Regions from separate parts of the Homo sapiens genome. Here region 1 is linked to region 2. Evidence: promoter capture Hi-C in human tissues and cell types (Jung and others, 2019). All regions are on one chromosome and are shown on one strand. The core of a region is centred on a gene start or on the middle of the fragment in contact, and the rest is flanking DNA. Distances in the headings are between cores, read along the strand shown. Region 1 holds the start of ACTA1 (actin alpha 1, skeletal muscle). Region 2 has its middle 6.2 kb from the start of CCSAP.

The links. The method cuts DNA at HindIII sites, captures the fragments that hold promoters and counts their contacts. A contact is called where the count stands out against the background at its distance.
Region 1: a contact is called between the fragment with the promoter of ACTA1 here and a fragment that was not itself captured in region 2, in 2 of the 25 tissues and cell types used here (dorsolateral prefrontal cortex and mesendoderm cells).

Annotation. Positions count from the first base shown.
Region 1 is chr1:229,432,844-229,436,732 of GRCh38, reverse strand. It overlaps ACTA1 (actin alpha 1, skeletal muscle), which reads left to right and starts at 2,639. Exons shown (of 7, transcript NM_001100.4): 1 at 2,639-2,729; 2 at 3,606-3,746; 3 at 3,853-3,889. The coding sequence starts at 3,618. RefSeq lists a silencer at 2,637-2,931. The HindIII fragment of the contact is 14,149 bases long and covers 1-3,889 here.
Region 2 is chr1:229,347,467-229,351,101 of GRCh38, reverse strand. No RefSeq gene overlaps it. Among named protein-coding and RNA genes, the nearest start is that of CCSAP, 6.2 kb to the right of the region's middle. The HindIII fragment of the contact is 6,415 bases long and covers 1-3,635 here.

The DNA.
Region 1 (3,889 bases), core at 1,390-3,889, 85 kb before region 2:
ACGGGTGTGTGGAGTGTTGAGGGGCACAATTGGAGAGAAGGGAAGTGTGAACACACCGGGGTAGTGGTAGCAGAAGGGCCCGGTCAGGGTATGAAGAGCTGAGGCTGCACCTGAAAACTTAGAAGCAGGAACTCCCTGTCAAGCATACCCTACATGGCTGACCTTTACTTAGTGACAGTTCTCAAAAGGCGGAGCAGGGCGCCGCTGCGCTCCCCCAAAACATACATGTATGGAGACGTGGCTCTGCCACCCACCATTCAGTCTATTCTCTAAGCCAATGAGAATGCAACAAGACCAGAATGGGACTGAGGGTGGCCTGTGGTGACCTGTCAGGGACTATTTAAACCAGCCGCAAATCATGTGGGCAGGGAACAGATGCCTGGCTGGCCACCTCAGGGGCCATCTCCCACAGTTTGCTGTACTAGCAGGTCTCTGTTCGCTTGTGAGTGTTTTTAATCATGGTCAGCTTTTAGTGTGGGTTTGAATGTAACAGACTGAGCTTAGAAAAGCTTTCTGTAAGGAAAGGTAAGAGTTGAACTGAGCAAGAGTTTTGAAAAATAGTGACAATCCCATTCTCCTTTGGAATGCGCACAAATATTGAGGTATCCAGTGAACGGCAGCAAATTTCCTACCTTCAAGGCCCAAATGTAAGCTAGTCCCCTTACGTTACATGCAGCTCATTTGCTAAGTGGTTTTTTTCTAGTATCTCCACTACTCGCTGACACAGGAGGACACAGGATGTTAAAAAGGAAATACAGTTCTGTCAATTATTCACTTACTCTCCAAAATACTTGGAAGAACTAAATATGGAACCATAGGAGACTTTATCCTCACCGCATAGTCCCTATACTAGTCAAACTCCTTATTTTTTAATTGATCATTTTTAGGAAGGTAGCATTTTATTCACTAGAACATTTTTGTTAATACTTGTTTATTTTTGGGATGAACTGCCATGATGTGGGCTACAGAGGAGGGTCGCATATGCTTCCATCCCCCTTTTAGAGAATCCACACCTGTCCCAGTTGCTGGGTTCCACTACCAAAAGTGAATTGCAACTATTTTAGGAGCACTTAAGCACATCCGAAAAATGAGTGATTCTGTTCTGGCCCACACCACATCACTGATGTACCCCCTTAAAGCATGTCCCTGAGTTCATCACAGAAGACTGCTCCTCCTGTGCCCTCCACAAGGTTAGAACTGTCCTTGTCTTAGGGAAAAAGGAGAGAGAGAGAGAGAGAGAGAGAGAGAGAGAGAGAGAGAGAGAGAGAGAGGGACAGGCACCAACTGGGTAACCTCTGCTGACCCCCACTCTACTTTACCATAAGTAGCTCCAAATCCTTCTAGAAAATCTGAAAGGCATAGCCCCATATATCAGTGATATAAATAGAACCTGCAGCAGGCTCTGGTAAATGATGACTACAAGGTGGACTGGGAGGCAGCCCGGCCTTGGCAGGCATCATCCTCTAAATATAAAGATGAGTTTGTTCAGCCTTTGCAGAAGGAAAAACTGCCACCCATCCTAGAGTGCCGCGTCCTTGTCCCCCCACCCCCTCCAATTTATTGGGAGGAAGGACCAGCTAAGCCTCATCTAGGAAGAGCCCCTCACCCATCTCCACCTCCACTCCAGGTCTAGCCAGTCCTGGGTTGTGACCCTTGTCTTTCAGCCCCAGGAGAGGGACACACATAGTGCCACCAAAGAGGCTGGGGGAGGGCCTCAGCCCACCAAAACCTGGGGCCAGTGCGTCCTACAGGAGGGGAACCCTCACCCCTTCAATCCCTTTAGGAGACCCAAGGGCGCTGCGCGTCCCTGAGGCGGACAGCTCCGTGTGCTCAGGCTTTGCGCCTGACAGGCCTATCCCCGGGAGCCCCCGCGCCTCCTCCCCGGCGCTCCGCCCTCGCCTCCCCCCGCCAGTTGTCTATCCTGCGACAGCTGCGCGCCCTCCGGCCGCCGGTGGCCCTCTGTGCGGTGGGGGAAGGGGTCGACGTGGCTCAGCTTTTTGGATTCAGGGAGCTCGGGGGTGGGAAGAGAGAAATGGAGTTCCAGGGGCGTAAAGGAGAGGGAGTTCGCCTTCCTTCCCTTCCTGAGACTCAGGAGTGACTGCTTCTCCAATCCTCCCAAGCCCACCACTCCACACGACTCCCTCTTCCCGGTAGTCGCAAGTGGGAGTTTGGGGATCTGAGCAAAGAACCCGAAGAGGAGTTGAAATATTGGAAGTCAGCAGTCAGGCACCTTCCCGAGCGCCCAGGGCGCTCAGAGTGGACATGGTTGGGGAGGCCTTTGGGACAGGTGCGGTTCCCGGAGCGCAGGCGCACACATGCACCCACCGGCGAACGCGGTGACCCTCGCCCCACCCCATCCCCTCCGGCGGGCAACTGGGTCGGGTCAGGAGGGGCAAACCCGCTAGGGAGACACTCCATATACGGCCCGGCCCGCGTTACCTGGGACCGGGCCAACCCGCTCCTTCTTTGGTCAACGCAGGGGACCCGGGCGGGGGCCCAGGCCGCGAACCGGCCGAGGGAGGGGGCTCTAGTGCCCAACACCCAAATATGGCTCGAGAAGGGCAGCGACATTCCTGCGGGGTGGCGCGGAGGGAATGCCCGCGGGCTATATAAAACCTGAGCAGAGGGACAAGCGGCCACCGCAGCGGACAGCGCCAAGTGAAGCCTCGCTTCCCCTCCGCGGCGACCAGGGCCCGAGCCGAGAGTAGCAGTTGTAGCTACCCGCCCAGGTAGGGCAGGAGTTGGGAGGGGACAGGGGGACAGGGCACTACCGAGGGGAACCTGAAGGACTCCGGGGCAGAACCCAGTCGGTTCACCTGGTCAGCCCCAGGCCTGCGCCCTGAGCGCTGTGCCTCGTCTCCGGAGCCACACGCGCTTTAAAAAGGAGGCAAGACAGTCAGCCTCTGGAAATTAGACTTCTCCAAATTTTTCTCTAGCCCCTTTGGGCTCCTTTACCTGGCATGTAGGATGTGCCTAGGGAGATAAACGGTTTTGCTTTAGTTGTCGCCAAGGCAGTTCCCTTCCAAACTAGCGCTAGAGCGAATGAGCGAGCAGCCAGGACCACCCATTCTGGGTTTCCAACAGGCGAAAAGGCCCTTTCTGAGTTTGAAATGTCACAGGGTTCCTAACAGGCCACTCTTCCCTGGATGGGGTGCCAACGCCTTTCCCATGGGCATCTCCTTCCACCCTCACGCTGGCCCAGCAAGCAGGCAGTGCTGAGGCCTTATCTCCCTAGGTGACAGATGTGGTCAGGGAGGCGCAGAGAGGATGGGCACTAGCGTCCAGCTCCTGGAACAGGTGTCAGGCAGGGAGGGCAGACAGGTCTTGGGGAACATGTTCCCCTGGCTATGTGGACAGAGGACTTCTCAGTGGGGTCTCGCGACCCTGTGCCCCTTTTCCTGGTTCAGGGCAGCCCTTAGCCGGGGCAAAGGTCGAGAAGAGAACCCCTGGTCGCCGCCCTGGCAGAATTTGAGTGGCTCCGGCAGGAGATGTCCCTAGGTTCCTGGGGAGGGAGGACGTCGGGGCCAGCCAGGCTTACCCCCCCCTGCCGCTGAGACTTCTGCGCTGATGCACCGCGCCTCTTCGCGGTCTCCCTGTCCTTGCAGAAACTAGACACAATGTGCGACGAAGACGAGACCACCGCCCTCGTGTGCGACAATGGCTCCGGCCTGGTGAAAGCCGGCTTCGCCGGGGATGACGCCCCTAGGGCCGTGTTCCCGTCCATCGTGGGCCGCCCCCGACACCAGGTCAGGCTGCCCCTCCGCAGAGGGAGCCGGCTCGGGGTCCCCGCGTAAGCCAGCCTGGTGCCACCCGGAGCGGCGTTAACGGGTGCGTGGTGTCTCGGCTCTGCAGGGCGTCATGGTCGGTATGGGTCAGAAAGATTCCTACG
Region 2 (3,635 bases), core at 964-3,463:
GACGGGGTTTCTCCATGTTGGTCAGGCTGGTCTCAAACTCCTGACCTCAGGTGATCTGCCCACCTCGGCCTCCCAAACTGCTGGGATTACAGGCGTGAGCCACCTTGCCTGGCCTGATTTATTTTAATCCATCAATGACGGGATCAGCATGATAACAAGCCTGGTTCTGTATTAGACTTTTTAAATGAGTGACTTATACCAGCTACATTCATTTCCTCACTATTCACACATTCCTTAGCTTCCCAGATTTCACGTTTACCCTCTCACTTTATTAAACCTCATTTTTTTATTTTTTATTTTTAGTTATTTTATTTGGAGACACAGTCTCACTCTGTCACTCAGGCTGGAGTGCAGTGGCACGATCTCGGCTCACTGCAACCTCTGCCTCCTGGGTTCAAGCCATTCTCATGTCTCAGCCTCCAGAGAAGCTGGGACTACAGGCATGCGCCAGTCATGATTGAATAATTTTTGTATTTTTTGGTAGAGATGAGGTTTCACCATGTTGGCCAGGCTGGTCTTGAACTCCTGACCTCAGGTGATTCACCCCCGTGGGCCTCCCAAAGTGCTGGGATTACAGGCATGAGCCACTGCGCCCAGCTAAAACCTCATTTTTTATACAGATGGGTCTTGCTGTGACACCCAGGTTGGAGTGCAGTGGTGTGATCATAGCTCACTGCAGCCTCGACATCCTGGGGTCAAACAATCCTCCCACCTCAACCTCCTGGGTAGCTGGGACTACAGGCATGCTCCACCATGCCTGGGTAATATCTTTTATTTTTTAAGAGACAGGGTCTTGTTACATTGCCCAGGCTGGTCTTGAACTCCTGGCCTCAAGTGGTCCTCCCGCCTTGGCCTCGTAAAGTAGTGGGATTATAGGCACAAGCCACCGTGGCTGGCAAAACCTCATTCTTGAAACTCACCAGCAAACTATTCTACTGTGGAACCCAAGTTTTCTTCATTCCTCACTATCCTAAATTACATAGTACTAGTGACAACTGTTCACCTGCAGTTTGAAGACCCTAAGCCAGTTCTCTGCTTGTGTTTCTGGATACATCTGTTCTTTGTCGTTCTTCCTTCGTATGTGGAGCCATCCTCAAAGCACTGGGGTCATCCTGCTTAACAATAAAAAGAGCTACCATTTATTGATTGCTTATTCAATGCAGACACAGTTCTCACTACTTCATAAGCTGCAATTTTATCTGGTCTTCACAGGAACTGTTATTATCTCTGTTTCATGCCTAGGGACACTGAAGCATAGAGAAGTTACCTGACCAAAGTCACGTAGTTAGTGGCAAAACCAAGATTCAAACTCAGGCAGTCTGGCTCTGCCTTGAGGCAGACTGCACAGTCTCCACCTTCTCTATTTTTTGCCTCGGAGCACCTGGCCAATTATCCCTTGGCCAACCTCACATGACTATTAACTCCAGAGTCAGCCATCTCTGAGCTCCAATTCCACCACTGCTAGCTGTGTAATCTTAATCGAGTTCTTTATTCTTTATTAGGTCTAGTCCTCAATTTCATCATCTGTAAAATGGGCACATAATAGATTCTATTTCTAATTCTCACAGAGTTGCTATGAGAATTAATTGAGCTGATATGAGTAAAATGCCTGACATTGAGAAGGCATTGGATGCTAGTACTATTAGTCATCTAATTACATGTTGTTTGTCTGTGGAACAGAGCACCTAGGTTCTTTTCCTGGGATCCATAAGCCAGCATGGGGGAGGGTTACAGGCAGGCAAATGTTTTGTGTGTACATTTATTTTTTCTGGGGAGAAAGTCCATAAGTTTGATCATATTCTCAAAAGAGTATATGACCCCCAAAAGTTGGGAACCACTGAGCTTTAAATGAGTCTAAAAGGGCCCCAGCACGGTGGCTCATGTCTGTAATCCCAGCACTTAGAGAGGCTGAGGAAGGCGGATCGCCTGAGGTCAGGAGTTCAAGACCAGCCTGGCCAACATGGCGAAACCTCGTCTCTATTAAAAATACAAAAATTAGCCCAGCATGTCAGCGTGAGCCTGTAATCCCAGCTACTTGGGAGGCTGAGGCAGGAGAATAGCTTGACCCAGGGAGACGGAGGTTGCAGTGAGTCGAGATCATGCCACTGCCCTCTGGCCTGGGTGACGGAGCAAGACTCCGTCTCAAAAATAAATAAATAAATACATAAATAAATAAACCTAAAGTTTGAGACCTGCGTCTTTTACATTTCCTGCCCTCAGCATAGCCAGGGATACAGCAAGCTTTCACTGATGTGCATGGAATTGAATCCTCACTGGAACGTAGCAGCTGGGTCAAGGCCGTGGACAGTAGGGTTCCTGACATTGTCACCTGTCTTCATTCCACACAAAGATGCCCACTGTGAAAAGTTTTCTGAAATCACTTCTTCAGTCCAATAACAACATTTCAAAGCTGAGTATTTCACGTGCTGCATTGGGAAAGGGTGCTGATTACATCCCTCAAACTGCACAACTGTGACCGTCACTGCTGGCTGATACTTCGCAGAAGGGCGCAGGGGGCAACTGTTGATGTGGCAGGGCTATGTTAGCATTCTTTACCTTACCTTCGCTTGAGGACTTAAGATAATAGCAGCTACCACAGAAATAATGGAAACAAAAATTCTTTTATTTTAATTTGTATCCGTTCTTACGGTTTCTTTATACTCCTCCTCAATTCAAAATGAATCTAAGCACATTTAGATATTGATTCCAATTAAGATATTTAATATGTCTTATCTTCTGTAAACTAGTCCATTTTGTGTTGATATAAAGGAATTCCAGAAATTGGGTAACTTATTTACAAAAAAAAAAAAGGAGGTTTTTTTGGCTCATAGTTCTGCAGGCTGTACAAGAAGCACAGTGCTGGCATCTGCTTCTGGGTGGGGAAGCCCAGGAAGCTCACAGCCATAGCAGAAGGGGAAAAGGCAACAGGTATGTCACATGGCAAGAAAGGGAGCAAGAGGGATGCCAAGATCTTTTAAACAGCCAGCTCCCACATGAGCTAATAGCATATTATTATGTCAGGACTTATCCGCTTGGAAGTGACAAAAAAAATTCAAACTAGCTTAAACAGAAAGGATATTTGTGGGCTCAGGCAGAGCTAGAGCCAGGGGTTCAACCAATGTCACTGGGACTCTCTTTCCTTCTCTTTGTCTTTGAGCTCTGCTTTCCTGCTGAAGGCTGGCCTCTTCTTCTCGCACTGGAAAAGGACTTCCTCCCTATAGCTGGAGAAAGTGCCACTTAATAGCCTCAAGCTTATATTGTCTGAGCCAAAGACCACCAGCAAAAGAGAACTTCTTGGTATTCCAATTATAGACAAAGATTCTTCCATCACATGCGCAGCTGTTGCCAGGGGCATAAGATGATCTGATTGGCCAAGCCCAGGTCACTTCCCTTTCCCTATAGATGGGGACAGAGTGGGAGGCTGGGGTTGACAGCCCCAGGAGAACCACAGGGGGACAGGGAAGAGCAGTGAGCAGATGAAGCAATACGTGTCCATTTATACATTTGCCTTTGTGTTAAAATAACAAGAACTTGATGAGAAAGACCAAACTGGACAGCACTCATGGGGTGGGAAGGACTCCTCTCTGGGACATAATTGACCATATGTAAGGTCTAGCTGTTAAAAAATCTACTAT